5 separate regions of the Homo sapiens genome follow, and regions 1, 2, 3 and 5 are each linked to region 4. The links are contacts of gene promoters, found by promoter capture Hi-C in human tissues and cell types (Jung and others, 2019). All regions are on one chromosome and are shown on one strand. Each heading gives the region's core, a stretch centred on a gene start or on the middle of the fragment in contact. The rest is flanking DNA. Distances are from core to core; before and after follow the strand shown. Region 1 overlaps DUSP16 (dual specificity phosphatase 16). Region 2 overlaps LRP6 (LDL receptor related protein 6). Region 3 overlaps LRP6 (LDL receptor related protein 6). Region 4 holds the start of ETV6 (ETS variant transcription factor 6). Region 5 holds the start of DUSP16 (dual specificity phosphatase 16).

Evidence for each region. The method cuts DNA at HindIII sites, captures the fragments that hold promoters and counts their contacts. A contact is called where the count stands out against the background at its distance.
Region 1: a contact is called between a fragment that was not itself captured here and the fragment with the promoter of ETV6 in region 4, in 1 of the 25 tissues and cell types used here (hippocampus).
Region 2: a fragment that was not itself captured here is called in contact with the fragment with the promoter of ETV6 in region 4 in 2 of the 25 tissues and cell types used here (hippocampus and thymus).
Region 3: a fragment that was not itself captured here is called in contact with the fragment with the promoter of ETV6 in region 4 in 2 of the 25 tissues and cell types used here (dorsolateral prefrontal cortex and mesenchymal stem cells).
Region 5: a contact is called between the fragment with the promoter of DUSP16 here and the fragment with the promoter of ETV6 in region 4, in 1 of the 25 tissues and cell types used here (hippocampus).

The regions. Positions count from the first base shown.
Region 1 is chr12:12,509,699-12,514,730 of GRCh38, reverse strand. The region is part of intron 3 of DUSP16 (dual specificity phosphatase 16); the gene reads left to right. Among named protein-coding and RNA genes, the nearest start is that of DUSP16, 51 kb to the left of the region's middle. The HindIII fragment of the contact is 5,128 bases long and covers 1,159-5,032 here.
Region 2 is chr12:12,214,792-12,220,201 of GRCh38, reverse strand. All of the region lies in intron 2 of LRP6 (LDL receptor related protein 6), which reads left to right. Among named protein-coding and RNA genes, the nearest start is that of LRP6, 50 kb to the left of the region's middle. RefSeq lists an enhancer at 4,116-4,615. The HindIII fragment of the contact is 5,233 bases long and covers 517-5,410 here.
Region 3 is chr12:12,237,632-12,243,164 of GRCh38, reverse strand. All of the region lies in intron 2 of LRP6 (LDL receptor related protein 6), which reads left to right. Among named protein-coding and RNA genes, the nearest start is that of LRP6, 27 kb to the left of the region's middle. The HindIII fragment of the contact is 5,026 bases long and covers 372-5,397 here.
Region 4 is chr12:11,648,351-11,653,726 of GRCh38, reverse strand. It overlaps ETV6 (ETS variant transcription factor 6), which reads right to left and starts at 4,053. Exons shown (of 8, transcript NM_001987.5): 1 at 3,567-4,053. The coding sequence starts at 3,599. RefSeq lists enhancers at 524-573, 904-1,013, 5,051-5,150 and silencers at 3,701-3,860, 3,871-3,920, 4,131-4,340, 4,631-4,870. The HindIII fragment of the contact is 9,953 bases long and covers 1-5,376 here.
Region 5 is chr12:12,561,613-12,566,692 of GRCh38, reverse strand. DUSP16 (dual specificity phosphatase 16) reads left to right here and starts at 3,830. Exons shown (of 7, transcript NM_030640.3): 1 at 3,830-4,576. RefSeq lists silencers at 3,521-4,030, 4,481-4,560, 4,591-4,710, 4,731-4,930. The HindIII fragment of the contact is 19,289 bases long and covers 1-5,080 here.

The sequences.
Region 1 (5,032 bases), core at 2,473-4,972, 860 kb before region 4:
TGCCACTGAACTCCAGCCTGGGCGACAGAGCAAGACCCTGTCTCCAAAAGAAGAAAAAAGAAATTACACAAGGTAGAGCTAGAGAGAGGTAGTGCCATGCTCTATGCCATGTGCCGGGCCTGTTCTTGTTTTTTCTCCTGCAGATGTAAGATTTAAGATTGAGGGGAAGGGGAGAGATGGGGATTGGAGAATCCAAAAAAGGAACCATTTTCAAGGGTTGGTAATATCTTTCGTGTTACTGCTAAACTTTAGATATTGACTAAAGAAAAAGGATCAGAAAAGAGCAGGAGGAAGAAAAACTAGGTCCTAGTGGTAAAGGTATTACCTGAGCACAGGCTCTGTATCTGCATCTGCAGAAGGTTTCAGGGTCTTCTGATCAACTCAGTGCCATGCCCACACCCATTCCCTAGGTGATCTAACATCTGCATTGAGGAAATCCCTTTAAGCTGGAAAGAACAATGGACTAGGGGTCAAAGCTGTAGCCTGTGTTTTCTGTGTGTGTCTCTGCTCCTTATGGCAACTTTGGATAAGTCATTTAACCTGAATTATCTTGTATTTTTTCAGCTCCTAAAAAGAGATAATAACGCTTGCCTTATTATGAGGATTGTATTAGACAATGGATGTGAAATTTCTGTATCAATAGTCTAAAAGACTATCCTTCAAAAAAAAATAAGAAACTTATCAGTATGAGTTTGAAAACCCAAAAAATCAGTTGCCAACATTGATTTATTGAGCAACTTTTTTGGTGTTTTCAACAACCTGCAGAAAACTAGTTCTCTGAAAAATAAACTTGTTTCTTGGCTTTTACTTATTCACTATGTATCAGTTTATTCTACTTGTCTATTTCTAAGAGCGCCAGATTAGAAGTAAATATATGTGAAAAAAAGGAAAACTATTGAATTTGGGCTTTTATTTTATGCTGACATATGGAAAAGAGAGTAAATGGGTTAATTTAGTAGAAATAAAGATCAACCTGCATGTGAAAAATGCTGTTCTACTATGTCCTTCTCTTTCCCCAGTACAGCCTGAGTAAAAGCAAAAGGGCTCTGCCAGGCTTATTAATTCCACAGCACTCCCTTCTGTCCTGTGATGCAGCACAGAATAACCCTACAGCGATTGCGGGAGAAAACCATAAATGAACCACAGACTTCAGCCCTTTCATTTACAAATGAGGAAAATAACAGAGCTGCTGAGTGACTCTCCCAAGCTCTTGCTGCCCAAGGCCCACATCCACAAGTAATTCCAGAGTCTTCTGGAATTTTGTCAGGAGGCTAGATTGGGAATCAAGGGTGCCCATTTCAGATCAGGCTTATTCTGAAAGGCTCTTTTTGTAATAGCTCTTTCTCAGTCTTTTTGAGAATTTCAGTCATATTCTTCATACTTTATAGAATATAGCAATCTATAAAAATACACTGTATATAAATTGTTTTAAAGCATTAAACTATGTTAGCCAGAAGAGATCATCAAGTAAAAGTCTACTCTGTTTTATGCTGGTGTATAGCTGTGAATAAGGATAGAAGATACCATTTATTAAGAACACAGCAAAGGTCTTCGATTAATGTTTGCTATGGTTAAAGGCCAAATACTCATTTCTTCGTTTTGAGTTGAACTTAACTATTGTAGTTAGACCTACGAGTGAACAAAAATGTATTAGACTCTACACATTTTCAATTTAATAAGGATCTAGATTCTGATGACAGTTCTGTGTAATAAATGTATACTTTTGGTTTAATAGAATTGATTACTGTCCTTCCTCATGGAGGTATGATAGAACCTGATCTTCCTGGTTATGGATTTTGCTCTTTGTGCTATTACCATAAATTCTGTTATCTAGTTTGGTGTTTCTTCTCCTTTGTCTGGAGAAGGGAAATCTTCAGTAATTCCATTTCGAATCCTGTAGAACTTGGTAAATGAGATTGAAATTAATGGATTTCAGTAAAAGTATGCCAATTATTAAGGAACTGGCTGCTCTTGGGTCTAAAAAACTACAGTGACTGAGAGTCACTGAAAACAGACTAAAAATAGATGCTGTATGCACACATACACACACAATGGAATATTCAGCCTTAAAAAAGAAGGAAATCCTACCATTTTGCAACAATATGGGTGAACCTGGAGGACATTATGCTAATTGAAATAAGCCAGACACAGAAAGACAAATACTGCATGGTATCACATGTGGATCTAAAAGAGTCAAACTCATGAAAACAGTAGAACGGTGGTTACCAGGGGCTGGAGGGCTGGGGTAATGGGGAGATGCTGCTTAAAGAGTACAGACTTTCAGTGATATGATGAGTAAGTTCTAGAGACCTATTGTACAGCATGGTGACTACGGTTGACAATAAACGTACCATATACTTCAAATTTGCTGAAAGAGTAGATCTTAAGTGTTCTCACCACAACAAAAAGAGCATGGCTATGTGAGGTAAGGTAGTCATTCCAAGTGTATATGTATATCACATCATCATGCTGTACACCTTAAACAGATAAAATTTTTGTTTGTTAATCATACTTCAATAAAGCTGGGGAAAAAGGTGCTGTTTGCTCACTGGCTGCTGTGTATTTCTGGCTCTGTTTCTGAGTCTCAGTTGGCATGAATTCGTCTAAATTGGATCATCTTTTCTCCGATTGCTATCTGCCAGTGTGGAGAGTCAGTCATGTCTCTTCCCAGCTACCAGTGGCTAAGACACATGCTTGAGATTGTCTTTTGAAACAAACAGACTAGAGAGCCAACTAAAGCTTAAAGATAGTCCTTTGGTTCCCCATCCTGATATTGTGCACAAACCAAACAAAAGCATCCCAGATGACAACAGTGACATCAATCTTCCCTTGCCCCAGGTGGGGCAGCTGTGTAGTCTAGAGAAACACCAGGTCCAGCATATTCTTCAGCCCTTTCACTCACTCAGCCTCTCAATATTTGATGGGTGCCTCCATGGCTGTGCCTTGGACTGGGCTCTCGGGGGTGAAGATATTGGAAAAGCAAAAGGCTTGCCCCTGCCTTTGAGAATGTAGTGGTTAATTTGGGGAAATGCACCTAAAGTGGATGAAAGAAAGAGAAGTATATGATCATTTGCTAAAATGTATGATACAGTGATAAGGGATGATTCAGAGTAGTCTGCAGAAGTCAGGGAAGACTTGATTAGGGCAGTGGAATTTTAATCAAACCTTGAAAGATGAGGAGTAAGATTTGGGTAGGGAGGGTTCTGCGCATTCTGAGGGGGAAAGAACATGATTAAAAATGTCAGGAATGAACATAGATTTGGAGGGGCAGTGAGCAGACCAGAGTGGATTTTTTGTGAAGGAGAGAAATGGGAATTGAGAGGACATGAGATCAAATTATGTAAGCTCTTTAAATCAGAAGGAAGAATTTGTACTTTAAGGTGATGGGTATTGTGAGCTATTGGAGATATGGCTGCAATACCTGTCATCTCTTAGTCACCAGATCTTTCTTCCAACCTCTTCGGTCTGTCTGGTTTTCTGGTCTTCTGCTACCATGAAGTCAGTTGAATGTTATTCCTCCCCCAGGTTGCTCCAGGAGCCTCTTAACTGATCTGTTCACATGCTCTGTCTTGCCACCTTCCAATCCATTGCTCACACTGCAGCCAAAGTTACATTTTTATTTTGTGTTTTTAACTAATTCAGATTACATCACTTCCCAGTTTAATATGCATCAATAATATGCAGTGCTCTTAAGATAAGTTACAAAATTTTTAACTGATTCACAAGGCCCTGCAGTGGCTGGCTTCTGCCTACCTTGCTAACTTCATCCAGTGCCACTTTAAGTCCTCAGTTGTTGTTTTGCCTCAGCTCCTTAGGCCTCCTCCCTGTTGCTCTAAACCTAAGACATCATGCACCCTGGGCCTTCACAGAGGCTCTGTCCTCTGCCCTGGGCTCTTCTCTCTGCTATTTACCTAGTTGTTTTCCTGCTAGATTCAATGTGGTTGTCAAGCCTTCCCTAGCTACCAGGCAAAGTTGGTTTCCATATGCCTTTGGCCACTTACCATAATTAGTTAATTATTCATCTAATTATTTGGTTAAAGTTTATCCCATAAAACTGTCAACTCCAGAGAAGGCTCTCTGTCTTGGTCACCACTGTTCCATTACCTAGCGCTATGTCAAACTCATAGTAGGTGCTATTAAGTGTTTTTTGAACTTATATGTGAAACGCAGTTATCCCTTTCTCCCTCACTGCTCTATGACGTCTCTTGTCAAAATGTGTAGTTGGCCAAAGAGGAGGACTGTACACAGAGTGGAATATACAGAAGTGGTCTTAGGGGAGAGCCTGTGGCTAGATGGCTTAGAAAGCTTTGCGCTTCACATGGATAGCCTGAGAAGTGAGCTGTATAGTGTGATTCATGGACAGTTTACAAGTTAGTCAGATTTTATTCTTGAATAATTCTCCAGACACTAGACTTGTATTCCTTTTTCCTCTTGACTCATCAAGTTTCCCCTATGGATAATCTCATTTCATTATCCATTTTGATGATGATTATAGACATGTCCAGCAGCCACACCATCCTCATCTGGGGTATAATCATAGTTGGTGTCTCATTGGTTTCCTATGGGATGTGCCCTGATTCCCTGAGCCATGGAGATATATTACGGGACTCTCCACACCGGTGTGGAGTCCTGCGCCATTTAGGGGCATCAGAAAAAATTTTCTTTCCCTTTTATGTAAAGTCCTGTGGATACAGCAGAATCATAGTAAGGATTCAGTGTCGCTTTTGGATAACCAAAGTGACACTCGCCAATTTTATCTTTTTTCCTGTAGTAGAAGAAAAAATGTTTTTTTCTTGCCCTGTGCCTCCTCACTCACCCTGAGAGTCTTCTGGGGCATTGTGGTCTAGGAATAGGAAGCAGATTTTGTGCCCCCACCCACACCAACTAGCTTTTGGCTTTGAATGGAATCAGGAAATCCTTCGGAACACCAAAAATATACAAGACTTATGTCCATCAACAGCTATTCATTGTAACAAGGAAGGATTCAATAAACATTTATTGAATTCTAATTATGTGCCAGGCACTATGCTAA
Region 2 (5,410 bases), core at 1,884-4,383, 570 kb before region 4:
ATCCTCCTGCCTCAGTCTCCCTAGTAGCTGGGACTGCAGGCGTGTGCCACCACACCTGGTTAATTTTTGCATTTTTAGTAGAGACAGGGTTTTACCATGTTGGCCTGTCTGGTCTCTTAATTCCTGACCTCAGGTGATCCGCCCGCCTCAGCCTCCTAAAGTGGTGGGATTACAGGCGTGAACCACCGTGCCCAGCTGGAAGGATTAATTAATTCAAACTGGAGTAAATTAGCTGTTGCTGTTGCCTTCAACCTCACCAGAATGGATTGCTTATGGGGCTTGCTTCTGTCGCTGCTTCCTCTTTGACCTCTACGTCCTCCTCCTTTTGTTGATTCAGTTTTTCAAAGTCGGGGTTGGTTTGTCTGACTGGAAAAGCTCAGGACTTACACGTAACCCTGTCCCAGTTAGGAGAGAGATGTGGAAAGCAAATACCTGGTTTTCAGTTTCTTTAGTTTTAGGGCAAGGTTCTGCCTTATAAAGTGAAGAATTCTCCAAACATAGGAAAGTGGATTCGATAAAGCTGGGTAGCCCCCTCCAGTGCCATATATCCATGAAAGAACATTTTGTGAATGAAAGGGAATGGTTACAGGATTTGTGGATATCTTTGCTGTGATTTGAGTCTTGTTTGTATTTTTTCCCCCTTTCTAATGTTGAAAAATGAATGAGGTGCAATGGTAGATACAAAAGCGGAGGACAGTTGGCCTGTTGGGGTGGCTCACGCCTGTAATCCCAGCACTTTGGGAGGCTGAGGTGGGCGGATCACAAGGTCAAGAGACCGATACCATCCTGGCCAACATGGGAAACCTCATCTCTACTAAAAATACAAAAATTAGCCAGGCGTGGTGGCGGGCACCTATAGTCCCAGCTACTTGGGAGGCTGAGGCAGGAGAATCGTTTGAACCCCGGGTGGTGGAGGTTGCAGTGAGCCGAGACGGTGCCACTGCACTCCAGCCTGGGCGACAGAGTGAGACTGTCTCAAAAAACAAACAAACAAAAACCAAAAAGGGGTAGACAGTTAAGAGTATAAAATTTGTAACTAAAGTGGGCCCTACAAGTAATCTGTTGTTATTTTATTGTATTTGAGATGGAGCCTTGCTGTGTTGCTCAGACTGGAGTGCAGTGGTGAGATCTCGGTGCGATTTCACCATGTCGGCCAGGCTGGTCTCAAACTCCTGACCTCAGGTGATCACCCGCCTCGGCCTCCCAAAGTGCTGGGATTACAGGCGTGAGCAACCACACCCAGCCCCACATTGTTTTTTAAACTTGCTCTACCATTTTTATATTTCCACTAGCAGTGTATGAGGGTTTCAGTTTCTCTCTTTCCTGCAATATTTGCTATTCTTTGTCTCTTCCTGGTTTTTTGTTTTTTAAAGAGATGGGGGTATTGCTCTGTCACTTGGGTTGGAGTACAGTGGCATGGTCATAGCTTACTGCAGCCTCAAACACCTGGGCTGAAGTGATCCTCCCTTCTCAGCCTTCTTTGTAGCTGGGATTACAGGTGTGAGCCTCTGTGCCTGGCCCTCTCTCCTTTTTTAAAAAGTTATAACCATCCTAGTGGGTGTATAGGCATGTCTTATTGAGGTTTTGATTTACATTTCCTTACTGACTGATGTTGAACATGTTCTGTGCTTTGACCACTTGTAAATCTTGATTTGTGAAATACCTATTTTAAAATTGTATAGTATTATTATTATTATTATTATTATTATTATTATTATTATTATTGAGAGAGGGTCTTGGTCTGTTCCCCAGCCTGGAATGTAGTGGCATGATCATGGCTCATTGCAGCCTCAACTCCCTGGGCTCAAGCGATTCTCCCATTTTAGCCTCCTGAGTAGCTGGGACCATAGGTGGGTGACACCACACCAGGCAAATTTTTAAATTTTTTTGGTAAAGATGGGGGTTCTCGTTATGTTGCCCAGGCTGGTCTTGAACTCCTGGACTCAAGTGGTCCTCCCACTTTGGCCTCCCCAGTCGCTGGGACTATAGGTATGAACCACTATGCCTGGTAAGTCCTTTTATTATTGAGTTCTAAGAGCTCTTTATATATTCTGGAAACCAGACCTTTGTCGGACATACGATTTGCAAATACTGATTTCCTGTTCTGTGGGTTGCCTTTTCACTTTCTTTGTGGTATCTTTTGAAACACACATATAATGGAGTTTTGGGATGAAGTCTGATCTGTTTTTTTCTTTTGTTGCTTGTGGTTTTAGTGTTATATCTGTGAAACCATTCTTTTAATTCTGGATCATGAATATTTACTCATTGTCTTCTAAGAGTTTTATGGTCTTAGCTTTTACAATCAGGTCTTTATCGTTTTTGAATTAATTTCTGTATGTCCTTTAGAGGTCCAGCTTCATTGTTTTGCATGTGGATATCCAGTTATCCCAGCACTATTTGTTGAACAGACTGTTTTTCCCCACTGAACTGTCTTCACATCCTCATTGAAAGTCAATCGACCATAAATATAAGGGTTTATTTTTGGATTTTCATTTCTTTTAAATTTATCTAGATGTCTGTCCTTATGCTAGTATCACACTGTCTTGATTACTGTGGCTTTGTAGTATGTTTAGCAATAGGGAAATCTGAGTCCCTATAGCTTTTAAAGCTAAGAGTGTCTCGTAAAGCAGTGGTCCCTTACCTTTTTGGCACCAGGGACTGGTTTTGTGGAAGACAGTTTTTCCACGGACTGGGCTGGAGGGATGGTTTCAGTATGACTTAAGCACATTACCTTTATTGTGTACCTTATTTCTATTATTATTACATTGTGATGTATAATGAAATAATTATATAACTCACCATAATGTAGAATCAGTAGGAGCCCTGAGTTTTTTTCCTGCAACTAGATGGTCTTATCTAGGGGTGATGGGAAACAGTGACAGATCATAAGGCATTAGATTCTAATAAGGAGCACGCAACCTAGATCCCTTGCAATGCGCAGTTCACAATAGGGTTTATGCTCTTATGAGAATCTAATACCTCCACTGATCTGACAGAGGCGGAGCTCAGGCAGTAATATGAACGATAGGGAGCGGCTATAAATACAGATGAAGCTTTGCTCACTTGCCTGTTGCTCACCTCCTGCTGTGTGACCTGGTTCCTAAAAGGCCATGAACTGGTAGTGGTCTCTGGCTTGGAGGTTGGGGACCCCAGTTATAAAGGATTTGTGTTTACATGATACTGTATTTTATGAAAGGCAGTCTGGTAGCAATAGGCAGGATACTAGAGCCGTGAGAAATGAGGAACCAAAAGCAGAGAAACAAATTAGAAAGGCTCTTATATGTCATGCTAAGAAGTTTGGGATTCATGCTGAAAGTAAGGAAATTACATAATCCCAGATTGCAGGGGCAGGGGGAGGGAGGGGGAGGGTGTGTGGGAGGGGATGTGGTGGTAATATAATCATTAATTTCAGAGTATTCTGGAAAATGGCCTTAAGGGTAGGGGATGGGAAGTCTGGAAAGAGGCTGTTTGGATTATCCGTTAGTTTTATTGGGGCTTGAGAAAACAACCTTTAACAAAGCTTTTCTTTTCTTTTTTTTTTTTTTTAAATTTTAAGTACAGAGAGAAGACCACATCCAAGAAAACCCTATAACAAAATATCAGAATTTGTGAACAACTGTCATTCTACCTAACGGTTGCAGAAACTAAAAATCCTGAGTCATTCTAGGCCCCCACCTCCTCACTCCTCACATTTAATCAGTTACCAATTCTTGTTTATTCTGCCTTCTAAGTAGCTCTTGGATTTGTCTTCTCTTCTCAAATACTATTTACATTGTTTTCAGGCCCTCATATTTTTCAGCTGAATAAAAAGTATAATTGGCTATATTATTATCATTTTTTAAAACCTCAAATTTAAATCATTATAAAACAATGTTGCATTATGGCCATTGTGGGTAACAAAGTCACTTTGAAATGTGCTGGAAGATCCAGGACATTCAGAAATCTAATAGCTTTTGGCTTATGATAGATAGAGGGGTCTCCAAATCTTTCTGTCTTCTCCCTGTTTGTGTGTGTCTGTGGGTGGATTTAATTAAGACAGAAGAAAGTGAAGTAAAAGTCTGTTGCAGCGAATTAGGACCAGAGGAGAGGTATAGAAGACCATAACCGCTTTGAAGATTTTGAAAAAGATGAAGCAATTAGGCAGATACATTAGTCTATCACACAAATAGATCATTATTATTATTATTTTTTGAGGCAGTTTCCCTCTTGTCGCCCAGGCTAGAGTGCAGTGGCCCCATCTTGGCTCACTGCAACCTCTGCCTTGTGGGTTCAAGTGATTCTCCTGCTTCAACTTCCCAAGTAGCTGGGATTACAGGTGCTCGCCACCATGCCTGGCTAATTTTTGTATTTTTAGTAGAGACGGGGTTTCACCATGTTAGCCAGGCTGGTCTCGAACTCCTGACCTCAGGTGATCCTCCCACCTTGGCTTCCCAAAGTGTTGGGATTACAGGCATGAGCCACCACGCCTGGCCACAAATAGATTCTTAAAAGAAAACTCTGATCTTTAATACCTGAAAACACTGTCTACTGAAATCTTAAATCTTAGTCCTTGGCCAGGCACGGTGGCTCACGCCTGTAATCCCAGCACTTTGGGAGGCCGAGGCGGGCGGATCACCTGAGGTCAGAAGTTTGAGACCAGCCTGGCCAACATGTGAGGCTGAGGCAGGAGGATTGTTTGAACTCGGGAGGCAGAGGTTGCAGTGAGCCGAGATCGCGCTATTGCACTCCAGTTTGGGCAACAAGAGTGAAACTCCGTCTCAAAATGAAATAAAATAAAATAAAATAATCTTAGTCCTTACTGATTAAGGCCATTAGTAATAGTAAACAACAGTACTGTTTTTATCAGACTATTTTTATTATTTTTTTTCATTATTTCTGCACAGTTTGCTGTCCCCTCAAATCTCAGGGATCAGTGGGAGAACCTGTGATATTTATTTCCCTGTGATGTCCTTCCCTCCTCAAACTTTTCCTTATTAGGAAGTGTTTGTAAAAATGTTAACTTTATGTTTATTTGTAAGGATGTCAGAAACTGCAAATAAAAATGAGTTACCAAAACACCAGGGGTTTGGTCTAGGTCATGCTGCTCACTGCAGAGAAAGCCAGTGACTGAGACAACAAGTATTGCCATGGGTGCTGCAGCCAGGAAGATGAGAACTCAGTCTCAAACCATCTCCCTGAGTGACTAAAACGAAGGGTTCATATAGCAGGGAAGAAATGTAAAAGAAACAGGAACTAAGGCGGGCCAAGGAAGCAATCATGATGAATGAGTTGTCTAGCATCTTATTGTCTGTCTGAATGTGGTGATCTGGTGAGTTTCAGTTATTTGATACTTTGAGCAGCCTGAAGGTCATTTCCTGAGGAAGGAACTCAGGTAAAACAAATGTAAGATTCAAGCTTTAAGACCAGAAGG
Region 3 (5,533 bases), core at 1,635-4,134, 590 kb before region 4:
TTGAATAAATTGTCATGGCTAGTCTGTCATGGCTAAGTATAGATAACTATCTGAACATGAACCTAAAATGACTAATATTTGGTTAAAATCCAAAGATAAATAACCTGTACTATTTTAATACTTTGTTTTCTTTAGCTTTCAGTTGTATTAGAATGCTTTAAAACTCATTTCACTTATAGAAAGGAGTGAATTCTTTTTATGTAATAAATGAGAACTTGGGGAGAATGGAAGAAAGGTTTATATGTGCTTCTTTATCTTGATATCAGGCCTGGTTACAGAGGTTGAACAGGATGCCATGTTGTAGAAAAATGAGAAGACTGATTTGACTGTAAAGGATTATGTGGGCAGTAGTATAGGGAAATTTTAGAGGGAGATGTCTGGAAATACAAATATGTATTTTTTAGAGTGAAATTAAAACGTGTTTGTTGAAGCAAGATGGTGCTCTTAAAGCACCAGGAAATATTGTAGTGGCTCTGATCGTAGGAAAAACGATTGGATGTCCTGAGGAGGAGGTCTCAGATGTAACTGTAGTTATCAAAGAATTTGGTTGTTGAGAACTTTATAGATATTTTTGAGAAACGGAGTTTGTGTTTTGCTAACAGAGTTTGTAAGGCTCAGAGGGTGTTGAAATGTTTCTGAGGTTACTGCTTTGTAGAACACATAGGATTTTGGTGCTTGTAGTCGTCATTAGGGAAGAATACCGTGGTGAAAAGATAAAGTTCTTTTTTCCCCTCTTCTTGACAAGTTCAATTTTACCACTGTAAGGGTGATGATTGAAATTTAATGAAATATCTGTTAAATGGTTATTATGTTCAGAGTTCTGCATTTTGTACTCTGGTTGGAGAGAGGGGGTTTGGTTTATCTTTACTGTTTAAGGACAGAAAACTTGGGAGAGACAACTTTTTCTTCTTCAAAGCATGTTTATTTGCATTATGTAACATGAATGTGAAGAGAGGAAGAGTGTTAAAATAATTAGAAGGGGCACAAGAGCTGTTATGAGCTTCATTACCAAATTTTGGAATGGGATCTTGATCATTTCTATAAGAGATTAATGATTACCTGATAGTACATTATTAAAGGGAACTGAATGTATATAGTTCCTCTTGACTCTTCAGGATCTAACAGTTCAGTGAGTAAATTAATCATTTTCATTTTGTTCCCCAAAACTAATGAGCTTTACTTCTGGGTAGCAGGTCTGATAAGTATCTTCTGAAGTAATTTCGCCATTTGATTAAAAAATACTTTAGAGTTTCTGTGGCTTTAATTTATCCTTGTTATTTCTCATTATTGAATGTGAGAATTCACCAAAGACTTAGCTGATAAAAAAGATTATTGGAAGAATCAGTAGCAATTTACTTTGAAGGTAGAAGGTAGTGTTATTTAGCTTCTGAAGGTGGTTCAGTGAAGAATAACTCTTTCTGTGGACTAAAGGCTTGGTCAAACACCCAGTGAAATATTTTGTATTATTTTTGATGTGTGTGGTTAATGTGGGAGGCAGAGGAGGGGAGAGTAGGGGAGAGAGAGCGGGTAAATTCAACCCCCCTCCCCAGCTTTAACAGTCCTCTCAAAATTTCTTTTAATTTTGAGAAGTCATTTTGTGTCATGGTTATTTTAAAAACGACTCAACTGGAAACAAATAGAATCTGGTCAAATGGTATATATACATTTGATATATGTACAAATGATGGAGCGTATTTAAAATTATATTTTAAACTCCTACACTGAAAAATATATTCATCAGATGATCTTTCAGTGTTAATGATCTTAGATTTGTATCGTGGATTGTGGTTTTAGTTGAAAAGTAATTATAGGTAGAGTACATCATTTGTCAAACAGAAGAGATGATTTCCAGATTTATTTTTTGGGGGAAATACGAAGTTTGAGTTCCAGACAAAGTACATGAAAACAGTGCTGAGGAAAAATGTAGACTTTTCAGAGTTCCAGGATCCTGGATTATGAGGTTCACAAGAGCTGATTGAGCTCTCTCATAGCAACTTACGTAAAGGGAAAGCTATTGAATGACTGGTATTGTTTGAGCCCTGGGAACTAGTGCAGACATCTGTGTGCTTTCGGATGTATGGAGTTCTTTGTGTAATCAGTCCATTTAGCCTAGACTGAAGGAAGATTTTTATTCCTCTCTCTAAATTTGGCCTCTATTATATTAGTCTGAGATTTTTTTTTCCTTATGATAATGACTAGCAGTATACAGTTCAGACTAAGCAACGGGAAGATGTGTGTATGAAATTGTTAGAGAAATGAACAACCAGAGTTACAGTAAACAGTTGTCTTATGTTACAGTGAGTAGAGGTGATTCCTATGTGGCTGCTCCTAATGCTGGAGCCCCTCAGTCTGATTCCACAGTTACCATGCTAAGCAACCGTACTAATCTTGGTGATGTTGAGGACCTGTGTCAAGTTTAAGGGTGTTTTGTTTGTTTGTTTAGGATCCTTTCATATTCCAAATCATTTTAGATTTTTTTTATAAAGTTAAACTTTAATGATTCAATTTGAAGTGAATTTATATTAAACAGCTTTGAATGATATTTATATTTTAAAAGTATGTATTTTTATTTATTATTTATTTATTTATTTTTGAGATGGAGTCTCACTCTGTTGCCCAGGCTGGAGTGCAGTGGCGCGATCTTGGCTCACTGCAAGCTCCGCCTCCTGGGTTCACACCATTTTCCTGCCTCAGCCTCCCGAGTAGCTGGGACTACGGGCACCTGCCACTTTGCCTAGCTAATTTTTTGTATTTTTAGTAGAGACGGGTTTTGCCATGTTAGCCAGGATGGTCTCGATCTCCTGACCTCATGATCTGCCCGCCTCGGCCTCCCAAAGTGCTGGCATTACAGGCGTGAGCCACTGTGCCCGGCCATAAAAAGATTCTTTTTGTATGGAAAGTGGAAAATGTAGCCAGTTACATTTAGGCAGATTATATAGATTCACATATGTTTGGAGATGAGGTTTTTTGAGATCATTATCTAAAAAATAAGAGTGATGTGTTAGAAGAACCACTGATCTTTTCGGGAAATCTGGATTATGGGTTTAGCTTGAATGGCATATGAATCAGGGTCTTGGAAATTAAGAAACAACAAACTCGTGGTGTGTGTCTCTTTGTGTGTGTGTGTGTACATGTGTTCTCAAATGTTAATGTAGGGTTTTTTTTTTTTTAATATCTTAACTCTCATCCAGTTTTAGTTTCTTCATATCAAGTAATATCCATCACCGTGTCTCAAATTAATAAGTTTCAATTGTATTGTCTACTTTTTTATGCTCCATATCTCCTAGCATTTATTGAAGGAATTTTGAAGGGGAGTAGTTGTAGTATAACTGAATGCCTTTACATAACACAGTATTTTAATAGCTTTGCTTTTTAATAAAAGCTTTCTTTGCTTGTAACATTGAGCTTTTCATTCATCCTTAGTAGAAGATTGAAACTTGGTGATTATAAAGAAAAGGATACCTTCCTCTGTATGGCTGGAGATGAAAAAAAAAAAAGAAAAAGAATAGGGTACCTTTATGAGTATAGGCTGCCTGCACTTGGGGATTTTGTCTACCTTCGATGTATTCCAGAGTTGATGACTCTTCAGAAATTACAATGAATCTTTAAGATTTTGGAAGGAGGGGTTTGTCAGCTAATTTGTGAACTAGGAATAAAATATGACTGTTTTTATTTTTGTAACAATTGATATTGATACTATATTTCTTTTAGAAATTTTCACTTAAGCTTATTGAGTTTTGTACTGTTTCCATTGTCCTACCACTTGGACCGTGCCTTTCCTTCCTCCATCAGCTCTTTAAAAATGGAACAGTTTAAAAGTGCATTATTTTCTTTGTTCTTTTTCTGAGATCATATCCGTTTCCAGTTGGCTTTTGCATAGAAGCAGATAGCCAATTATTTAAAATCTAAAGCTTTAGACTGGATCTTGCTTTAAAGCACTGTCCCTGTGTATGAAGGATCTTGGTGTAAACAACTTACAGTTTTGAAGGATGTTCTGTTAAATTGGGAAGGTCTGTTTTCTATCCCTTGAATCCTAGAACTGGAAGGGAATCTTAAGGATCCTCTAGCTAAATGCCTTCCTTCCCTTCTTTGGGTGAAGAAACCAAGGCCTTTGACCAAGATAAATGAGAGGGAGCTATATTCTTAGTTGAAATTTTTGAATTCCGTGTTTGGTGCTTTTTTTCTTTGTGAAAGGTATCTTACTGAAGCCATTGTTTTTTGTTTTTTGTGTTTTTTTTACGAGTTGAATTACTTTAAAAAATTGAACATGGTAGCTTTGTTTAAAGGACCTTTTAAAATAAGTTTCATGTTTTTAGGTTTACTCAGTGTAGCAATTTCTTATTTTACCATTGCTTTTTGCATCCCAGTTAATCCATTTGGATTCAGCTTCCTTTTGTTTGAAGTATGCCCTTCAGTGTTTCTTTCAATAAGCGTCTGTTAATAGTAACTCTTGGTCTTTGTCTAAAAATGTATTTATTTTGCCCTCATTCTTGAAATGATAATTAGTTGAGTATAGAATTCTACGTGATTAGTTATTTTCACTCAGACCTTTGAGGGTGTATGGCTTTAATTGTTGGTACGATTAAGTCTGTATTGCATTGTAATTTATCATTTATCTTTTTTAATATTTTTGTGGTTTTTAAAAGCTTCTCTTGATTTTTGGTATTTTGCAGCTTTGTCTACCCTGTGTCTAGATGTGGATATATTTTTATTTATCCTGGTTAGGATTCATATTTCTAGAATCTAAGCATTTTTGTCGTTTGTTAATTCTAGAGAATTCTTATCCTTTTTTTTCTTAATTTTCCTTCGTTCTCCTTAGTCTCCTTTGGAACTCTTGTTTGATATGTGTTCCTTTCTAATTCCCTGTTCCTTTCCTCTTAATTTTGCTCTTTTATCTTCTCTCTCATTATTTCTCTGAGCCACTTTCTGTTTTTTTTTTTCTTTTGTACCTGCCATCTAGATACAAAATTCTTTCTTCAGCTGTGCCTAACTTTGCAGTTTAACATGTTAATTGAGGTTTTAATATCAGTGACTATATTTTAATTTTTTTAGAAGTTCCTTGTGCCCCCTTATGAAGAAATTTCAGCTACATAAAAGTAGAGAAAACAGTATATCAGTAATTTTAGACTTGGAAAAAAAGTTGCAAAAATTGTACATAGCTCTAGTGTAACTTTCACCCAGCTTCCCTAAATATTGACATTTTGTATAACCATAGAACAGTTATCTAACCAGGAATTAATGTTGATAGAATACTGTTAACTAATCTGTAGACCATATTTGAATTTCTCCGTTTTCCCCATTAGTCCTTTCTCTGGTCCAGGATACCATTTTGCATTTAGTTATCTCCTCGGCCTTTTCTAATCTGAGATGTTTTGGTAGTCTTTCTTTGTTGTTCATAACCTGGACATTTTTGAAGATTATTGGCCAGTCATTTGTAGAACGTTCCTCAGTTTGGCTCTATTTGCTGTTTCTCATGATTTGATTAAAGTTATACATTTTTGGCAAGAATACCACAGAAGTGGTATTATGCCCT
Region 4 (5,376 bases), core at 2,804-5,303:
TATTGAGTGCTTTCTGCAAGCAAGCCAGTGGATGAAAGTGTTACGTCACCCTGAGGTTACACGCAGACAGAAAGAGGAAAGGGGGCTGGCCTCCTCCCACCTCTCACTTCATTCACATCAGCAAACATTACTGAGAAATATTTCTATGCCAGCTGCCAAGCTAACTACTAGGACACCAAGATAATCATCACTAAACCCAAGGAGCCCAGAGTCCAGAAGGGGAGCTCGAAAGAGTCTCCCAGTTAGTAGCAAAATTTTAAAAACCAGATTTCCTTCTGCTATGAAAGCTGACTGATACGGACAGCAGGGAAGGAGGGGACTAGAGACACTGTGTGACTCGTTTTTGGATTCTGGTTAGTCCTGGCCCACTAACAAGCTGTGCCAAGCCTGACAAGGGACCGTGTCTGCTAGGCCACAACCACCTTCCGCTGCAACTTGGTCAAACTTAGAACTGAAGAGGTGACTTGAAGGTGAAGGCTGATGATGGAAAAGACAGCCTCTTCCTTCTTCCTGTGACCAGCACAGTCAGCCAGGCAATCCTCTTTAAAACAATTTGACTTTTTATAGAGAGTTGATCCTTTCCTTCCATTTAAACGACCCCAAATGGTCAGGAATTGAAGCATTTGAACTTCCATGACAACAGTGCCACAACCTTCAAGGGTTGTAGGACAGACCCCCCCAGGAGTGCTCGAGCACTCCTGCTTTCTGCAAGTCGCGTGTAGAGAAACAATAAGGCTCAGTGAGAGTTTCAGTGCCCTTGGAGTAGTCAACCTCTCTTCTACCGTAAAAAGTGTGTGTCTGATATTAACTTCCCCAGGCGATGGGAGCAAACTTACACAGTGCAAAAGAAACAGAAAAGCCCTTATCAGGCATTCATTGCGAGCGACCACCACATGAGCCATCTTTACAAAGGCGTCACTGATTGACCAATTCAGAAACTTTCACCTTGGAAACTCCACCCAAATCGGACACTACTCTTTTCTAGCAGAGCAGGCACTGCTCAGAAATAAACAAAGTACTTCCCTCTGTGGCTGCATCTCACCAGCCGCTGAGGAACTGTCTGCCTGCTGACCCGCTACTTGTAAGGAATGAAAGCAAGTGAGGACGGTTTCAGGAGTGGAGAGGAGGACTGGGAAAAACCTCTCCACAGTGAGAGCCTTTTGTGTCACAGGAGTTCGGTATATCAGGTTCATCAGCTCATCCTTGAAAACCTCTGACATTCGTTCTTCACTACACAGAAAAGCATATTGTTTACTGGACTCTAGAAGCAAGCAACTTGCTTGTGGGTTACCAGCAAACATTTTTTATTATGCAGTCACCGTACCACATCCCAAGGACTAAATGAAACGCAGCACACATCACCAGAACATTTCAGATGACCTGGAATAATCCCAGTCCTTGATCTCTAGTGCTTATTATTGGAACACTGAATTAAACAAACTCCATGGAAAGATACTCTTCACATACGTTCACCTAGACACATGCAGTCTAAGCAAATACATACTCGTTCCATAAAGAACGATCCAAAATAAAAGTGATTCTTTCCTTTCTGGTAAAGAACATTAAATCTATTTTAATTACATAGAAGTACACAGTAATGAAAAGAGGCACCCTGAAAGAACTGAGTTGTAAGCAATAAGGAAAAAAATGATATGCAAATTACAGACAATTTTCATGTTGCATTTAAGAACGCGTTTTGCTTGGGATTGGTTCTGTATGTGAGTAAGGCAAGGGACTGTTGTACTCTTTTTCCGACTGGAGCACAATGAAACAAACCACTCAGTAGCAGTCTGCAGCCAGCACACCACCATAAGCCCATCAAAACGGTGGGGATGCAGTATAGAAGAGGATCAAGAAACGTCACAGAAAGCATTGTTTTTTGTTGTTTTTGCCCTAAAGTTACTGATCTGTAGTTGGCAGATTTTCCTGATGTCGGGTTTATTGCCACTGAGCCAAATACAATTTATTTATTGAATATCCTACTATTTAGTTACCTCTATGTTATGAAGCGTCAAATAAATTAGATTATCTATACCGCAGGATTTTCCTGAACTCTGTGTAGAATCTAATTTATACCGCAAAAGAAACTGGTTTTGAAGTATTAATATCAAAGTACCCTAAGTTCTTTAGTGTGGCACGCCCCATGCCCACAGACATACATACTGCTACCTCCAGTTATGTACAAACACAAAAGCCTAAAAGTTCCATTAGGCATTTTTGTGAGGCAAAAACAAAGAAGCCCAAACCACCTTTTGATTTCACATTAGCCTATCCTCAAACCCATGAATATCTTTTCTGATAAGAAACACCAAAATGTGATTCTAATTATAAAAAACCTAGTAAGCACGTATGATGAACTACTGCGTTTCCCCTACACAGACTCTAATTGAAAGGCAGTGTTAAACCAGGAAGGGTTTTTCTAACTCCCCACAGACGAAGAAAACAGGTTATTTGTTCATTGTTGCTGTAGTGTCCATTCAGTGAACACACATTAAATAGGCCAAACCAAAAACAAACTTCAGCAGCTTCAGCCTCTCACAAGAGCGGAAGGCTTTCTACCTGGGTACTGGTGGAACAGCGAAATGAATAAAGTGTACAATAAATGCAGCGATGGGAAAAATAACACGGGTAGATGGATAAATCATCCTGCCTCCCAATGGTGGCAAACTTTACAACAACTTTTTAGAAGCAACAAACCGCAGCACCACAGTCTTTACAGATATATAGACATGCATACACACAACTACTGGGTAGCCCAGCAGTGTGTTTACAAACATCTACCGCCCTGCATTTACAGAGTGCTGCTTAGATAGCCTCTCTGCACTGTCAAACACAGAAGGTCATTTTGCCTGGTTGCTTAGTTCTTCCTCTCCCTCCATCACAGGAGTTTTCTACTTTGGGATTGCTCAACTTTCATATGGATCGGAGTAAAATAACTATTCAGCAACTTTATTCACCTTGGTTTTAAAAAAAAATTCATTGTGCAATGCCTAGGAAAAGCTGACACCAGGACTGTCTCTCCGACAGCGCTTGCAATTACAATCAGACGAGGGGGAAAAAAATCCTGTCTGATCAGACCCAGAGAGTCCTTTAAAAAAATAAAAAGATTCTATCGCAGTGGAAACTGAACAACTTTTTTTCTAAGACGACCACCCCTCGGGAACAAAAGTTATATTTCAGTCACATGTTGGGTGTAGGAATAGGGAGCAGGTTTTTTTTTTTTGTTTTTTGTTTTTTTTTTTTTTAAGCGCACTAATTACGGGGGTGTTTTACGGTTCTGGAGACAATCCGGGTTGCTCTGACCAATTGTGACCGGCATTTCATTGTCAAAAAGCAAGGGGGTGGGGGCCGAGGAGCCGGCAGGGGCTCGGCGGTGGGGGGGAGTAGCAAGGTTACGCTAAAGGGTACAGCAGCCACCGCGAGCTGCATCTCTTTCCCTCTCGCCCCAAATAATTTCCTGCGAACAGAGCAACTGCAACAGCCTGCTCTGAGGAGCCCAGCACGACTGCCCTGGCCGGTGCAGCTCAGGGTTTCCACCACGTAGAAGGAGGGGAGAAGATTTTTACCTTAATGCTACACTGAGCAGGAGTCTCAGACATGTCTCACAGCGAGAGAGATCAGGAAGTTCTCAGGTTTTTTCCACTTTCCTTTCCTCTCCCCAACCCAGAAAGGCTCCACGGCCAGCCAGACGCGGTCATTTAAGAAGTTTCTTCCAGCATCTCTCCCGGCAGCCGCCCCGGGGGTCTGGAGCGCGCGGGGCGGGGCGGGGCGGCCGGCGGAGTTGGGCGCGCGGGGCGGCGGGGGCGTGGGAGACGGGCCCGAGCGCGGCGGCGGGGTCTGCAGGTCGCGGCGCGGCGCGGGGACCCGGGACGCAGCCCGGCCGGCCTCCCGGTCTCTCCTCCCACCCGCAGCCGGCGCCCCCGCCCCCCGCCCTCCCGCGGCTCTCCCTCGCTCTCTCGAATGTTTTCCTTCCTGGAAGAGAGAAACTGAAAGGCAGAACTGAGAAAGCTCTTTGCTCATTGATCTTGAGAGTTTCAGTGCAGAAACTGACGTGAATTCCCAGCACTGAGCTCTGCCTCTTAAAGGAGCCACCAGGAAATAAAAGCTCGGGTTACAGCCCGGCATCGGGGAAATAAAAGCTGCGCGGGGGAGGGGCGGCCGCGGGGGCGCGGGCGGAGGAAACCCGGGTAGCGGGGCCGCGTGGGGCCGCGGCTGCGAGCGGGGCGAGCGGCGCAGCCCCCCAGGCCGGCCCCCGGTGCGGGCGCCCGCCCTCCACGCCGCGAGACCTCCCGCTGGCCGAGCCAATTTCCGGGCTTAAGGAAGACACCTTTAAAAAACGTTACATTGTGGCCCCAGACACCACAAAACAGGTTTTATTAAACTCCTCCCACCTCCCCTGGCTCCGTCTCTTGGATACATCGATGTGCACAAGGGTTTTGAAACGTTTCACTAAGCGCAGATGCAACGAAAGTAATTATCTATGAAGGGCCATTCCGGTTAGGACGCGGAATCCGAAGGAGGAAATAAAACAATAGCCTTTGTTCTGCTTCTCGACCGCTGCCTCTTTAAGAGAATCCACCAGGAAATGGGAGATCGGGTTACAGCCTGCACACGGGGAAATGTGGGGAGAGCGGGCGCCCGAGCGCGACGCCGGAGACAAAGCCGGGGCGGCCGCGCCGCAGACGCTGGGGGACCGTCGGGCGGGGGGATTCCCGGGGAAGGTGGGCGCCCCGGAAAGAGGTGGCGCCACGCGCCCGCTCGGGGATGCGGCGGCCGCGGGCGCTTCCCGAGCCGAGCACGCGCTCCGGGAAGGGAAGGCTGCAGGGCAGTTATCAAAGGCAGCTGAGTTCCTTTTCCTGACCTCCCCCTCCTGTTTCGAAATCCACTGCCCTTTTAAAGAAATAGCGGCCGCTACCAACCGAAATAGGTGACTCGACTACAAAGTTGGCAGGACGTGTTCCTGCAGATAATACCCCTCCCCAGGACCGCTTCTCTGAAACCGTCATTGGCCGGTTGATTGGATGGCCCTGGGATCCTGCAGGGGGAGGAATATTTGGTTGGAAAAGCAGTTGAGGGGGGTTAAGGCCGTTGGGGCTGAAGGGTCTAGCCCTGAGCACAAGTGATCTGATCACTCTATTATTTTTATTATTATTTACACTCTCTTAAAGTGTCCACCACAAAAAACTGAGAACATTATCATTATACTTAAATTCTAACCTTGTTAGCACATATTGGGGGTTTAATATGTGGATGTGTAATGTAAAAGGAAATTTGTTATAATTTCTTAATAGAGTAATATATTAAATATGGTATAAATATGTATATACGCATATATACCCATATATGTTACCTGCACTGGACCAGGACACATTTCCC
Region 5 (5,080 bases), core at 2,581-5,080, 910 kb before region 4:
TTTAACAAAGCACATCTTGCACCGCCCTTAATCCATTTAACCCTGAGTGGACACAGCACATGTTTCAGAGAGCACAGGGTTGGGGGTAAGGTCACAGATCAACAGGATCCCAAGGCAGAAGAATTTTTCTTAGTACAGAACAAAATGAAAAGTCTCCCATGTCTACTTCTTTCTACACAGACACGGCAACCATCTGATTTCTCAATCTTTTCCCCACCTTCCCCCCCTTTCCATTCCACAAAACCGCCATTGTCATCATGGCCCGTTCTCAATGAGCTGTTGGGTACACCTCCCAGACGGGGTGGTGGCCAGGCAGAGGGGCTCCTCACTTCCCAGTAGGGGCGGCCGGGCAGAGGCGCCCCTCACCTCCCGGACGGGGCGGCTGGCCAGGCGTGGGGCTGACCCCCCCACCTCCCTCCCAGACAGGGCGGCTGGCCTGGCGGGGGCTGAGCCCCACCTCCTTCCCGGACTGGGTGGCTGCCGGGCGGAGACGCTCCTCACTTCCCAGACGGGGTGGCTGCCGGGCGGAGGGGCTCCTCACTTCGCAGACGGGGCGGCTGCCGGGCGGAGGGTCTCCTCCCTTCTCAGACGGGGTGGCTGGGCAGAGACGCTCCTCACCTCCCAGACGGGGCGGCGGGGCAGAGGCGCTCCCCACATCTCAGACGATGGGCGGCCGGGCAGAGACGCTCCTCACTTCCTAGATGGGATGGCAGCCGGGAAGAGGCGCTCCTCACTTCCTAGATGGGATGGCGGCCGGGCAGAGACGCTCCTCACTTCCAGATGGGGCAGCCAGGCAGAGGGGCTCCTCACGTCCCAGACGATGGGCAGCCAGGCAGAGACGCTCCTCACTTCCCAGATGGGGTGGCGGCCGGGCAGAGGCTGCACTCTCAGCACTTTGGGAGGCCAAGGCAGGCGGCTGGGAGGTGGAGGTTGTAGCGAGCCGAGATCACGCCACTGCACTCCAGCCTGGGCACCATTGAGCACTGAGTGAACCAGACTCAGTCTGCAATCCCGGCACCTCAGGAGGCCGAGGCTGGCGGATCACTCACGGTTAGGAGCTGGAGACCAGCCCGGCCAACACAGCGAAACCCCGTCTCCACCAAAAAAATACGAAAACCAGTCAGGCGTGGCGGTGCGTGCCTGCAATCGCAGGCACTCAGCAGGCTAAGGCAGGAGAATCAGGCAGGGAGGTTGCAGTGAGCCGAGATGGCAGCAGTATAGTCCAGCTTCGGCTCGGCATCAGAGGGAGATCGTGGAAAGAGAGGGAGCGGGAGCGGGAGCGGGAGAGGGAGAGGGCTGTTTCCACATATTTATTGTTAGTATGTAGAAAACCTTTCTTAGTAAAAGAAAGAAATGTACTCTTCGGTGAAGTAAACTTGTTTAGTGGTTTCCCCTTCACCTGCTGGGCAGGTAACAATCTATTTATTCTAACATTCAAGTACCTCCACAATGTGCCTCTGTATCTCTTAAATTTAACCTCATACCTAATTGCTAAATACCGATTTCTACTGCTACTGGGTTTACTCTTCTGTCACTTGAATACACCTTACTCATTATTCATTCCACCTCCATGTCTTGGCTCATTGCCATTTGCCCTCTGGAATCTTCCCTCCACTGGCTTCTTCACTGCAAACTAAATCTGAACTGTCCTTCAAGGATAAGGTCAAAACTCTTTATAAGGTGCCTTCCCTGATAATCCCAGCCTACATTGCTCCTTTTCTCCCCTGATGTTTTTTTTTGTTTGTTTGTTTTTTTTTTTTTTTTTGAGATGGAGTCTCACTCTGTTGCCAGGCTGGAGTCTGGAGTGCAGTGGTGCGATCTCGGCTCATTGCAACCTCCACCTCCCGGGTTCAAGTGATTCTTCTGCCTCAGCCTCCTGAGTAGCTGGGACTACAGGCGCCCACCACCACGCCTGGCTAATTTTTGTATTTTTAGTAGAGACGGGGTTTCACCATGTTGGCCAGGATGGTCTCGATCTCTTGACCTCATGATCCACCCGCCTCGGGCCTCCCAAAGTGCTGGGATTATAGGCTTAAGCCACCACGCCCGGCCCCCTGACTCTTTTAACCAATATTGTACATCACTCAATCATTGATTTCGTTTTTAATGAGCTTTAATATACGTCTTGTTTCCAGAAATAGATGAAATACCCTGAGAGACTTCTATGATAGCTATGATGGCACCACATCATACATTACACAAACTTAATTGTGTAACTGAGGAAAGGGGAGAAACGTTTCAAGCCATGTCAGTTAAAGCAAGGTTACTGGAACTTTGGCATGCAAAGGGGATACCATTAATTCTCATGAATCTTTCCTCCAGGCAAGATCCATGCTCTGTACCACTAGTAAAAGGACTATCTTCTTCTTCCTTCCTAAAAATCCCAACACCTCCAACAAAGGTCTACAGTTAGATTTTTAGGGGTTTCCTGGTAGAGCACAAATAATCCCAAGGAAGCTGCAGTAACACCTCCTGGCCACCAGAGGACAGGGAGCAGTGGGAGAGATTTGCTTCCCCTAGCAAAGTCTTCAAGAGGCCAGAGGCACAGGCTCAAAGTTGCTTCTCCATCTGTGGCCTTCAGGCTTTACCTACTACTGCCAGAGGTGCTAGGGTGCCTCCCATCTTCAAATGGGCTTTTTTTTTCCCTCCTATAAAAGATGGGCCAGAAGTTCCCAGGGCCATACCCCGCAACACTAACCTTCAATGATTACCAATCATAAGGAATGCCTTTAGTTGCAGGACTTAAAGGCAGAAAAGTAGTAACAGGGGTGTATTATCTTTCGAACCCACCCAAACCTGCTTATCAGTTCTTTTGCTAGTGGAAAAACGTGCTTTAGGCAGGGTGCACATGGATATCCCACAGCAAACAGTGCCTTTAGGGTCTAGTGTCCCAATCCGGCACATTGTAAATGGAATATTTGAAGAGTTAGATTATTCCTACACATAAATTCTGGCTCATGGAGCAGTCCACTCGCAGGGTGCTTTTCCGTCATTAATCACATCTTTGTTATGTGATATCCACGTGAGTACTTCTCAGTAGAAGCAGCTTCATGCTCAAATGCTCAAAGAACATTGGAATAAAGCTCCGATTGTCCTATTCAGTGATTCCAAGTCCTGGTTTGTCACCACCTCAGGTCTCTCGTTTTCCAAAGTGCATAATGTCATCTCAAAACAGACATTTTAATGAATTCAAATAATAAAATGCACGAGGTATGTGGAGTTAAATCAACAAGGGTTTTGTACCTCTCAAGAGGCGGTTAACCCCTGGTCTTATTTAAAGATGTTTCTGCGCTGCCTCCTGTAGAAAACATTTTTAAAGAAAATGTAGGCTGCTTATCCTTGTATTTGTAAATATAAGCAAAGTAAAGTAATGTAGGAACATTTATGTGGGGGCTTTCAACCATAAACATATAGATAGCTGAATGCCTGACAACAGTAGTGTGATTTTTCTTGAAGTACCTGTAACTTCTCTCCTGAGAGATGGCAGAGCCTTGCCTTTTGCATTCGCCAGACTTTTTACAGAGCGAGTGTAATTCTCTCAAATCAGTGTTTGCGTTTTTTGACGTTGGTGAGGCAGCTGGAAACAGCTCAAGGAGGAGGGAAAGGTTCTGCGTCTGGGTGAGGGAGAAAACCCTCCGATACCTGTTGGGGCGCAGCACTGGAGGCGGACACCCCGGCCCGGGGGTCGGGGCCGCGAGCCCGGGGGTAGGGGGCGGGCGCGCGGGCGCGGGAGGAGGAGGAGGAGGAGGGAGAGGTGGGGGAGGAGGCCGCGGGGCCGCCTCCTCCGGCAGCTCCGGCTCCTCCCAGCGGCGCCCGCGGAACCTGCCTCAGAGTCGCCGGACTCTGGAAGGGAACATGACCTGACCCCTCCCCGAGCGGCCGGAACGAGGCGCGGAGCCGCGCTCCGGGCTCGGGCGGCCGCGGGATGGGCGAGCGCGCGGCCCCGCCCGGCGCCCACCGCCCTGCCCTCGCCTGTCTCCTCCTTTCCCCGGGGCTCCGCTGAGTTCATTCACTGGGATTGGTTTCAAGTGACGCCATCTCTTTATTTTTAAACCAATGACCTCATCCGCGCTTGAAGTTTCCTGACCAGCGACTCTTTCTCTTTCCCCCAACCCCCCACCCCACCCCCCCGCCTTTCCCCCTCTTTCTATGTATCAGTGTTTGGGGGGCTTTAATCAGTTTTTAAACGATTATTACCACCTCTCTCTCCCCCCCAACCCCCACTTTCACAACGCGGCCCCCCACCTTTACCTCCCTAAGTTCTTCATCTCTTTCGACATTTTTTTTGAAGGCTGATGGGGGGGAGGGTGGAAGAGAAAGAGTGAAGAAAAGTTGCGAGCGTCTCCTCTCTTCCTAAGCCTCCCGCCCCAACCCACCCCTCAGAGAAGGAGAAGATAATATACTGAAAAGAAGAGGAGGAGGAGAGCGACGGGACGGGACGCGAGCGGGAGCGCAGCCGCCCTCTCGGCTCCGCGGCGGCGCCTCGCAAGTCCGGGAGGCGAGGGGGGCCCGAGGGGAGACGCCGTGACAACTTTCGTTTCCCTCTGAGGGAATTGGGAGGTCGGCGGCCCCAAAAGTAAGTGGCCTTGGCGGGCCGCGCGGGGTGTGCGGGCGGGAGGGTGCGGGGCCCGGGGCGCCCTCCCGCCCGGCCGCATGGACGCTCCGCAGCGCGCCCCGACTCCCGGTGCCGGGCGCCGCGCTCCAGCCCCGCCGTCTCTGCCTTCCCGGGCGTACCGGCCACCCTTTCGGGAGGCGGCGTGGGGGCGACCGCGGCCGGGGGCCGCAGGAGCGTTTGAAGCGGGGGTGTAGGCCTGGCCGGAGGCTGGCCGGAGCGGGAAGGGGGCGTGCGGCCGGGCGCGGGGTCGCAGTGGGTGCGCTCCCGGCCGCTGCGCGGCGCTTGGACCGGGCCCCGCCGAGAGGAGCGGCCGCCGCGGGACGCGGCACCTTTGCGGGCGAAGCTGCTCACTTCCAGGCGCGACTGTTACACAACACGCCTGCCAAGTGGGGCCCTGGCCTGACTGTTCCCATTATCCCCAGTTCGCCTTTGGTGTAAGCAGCGAGGCCACCTGGGTGGTGACGG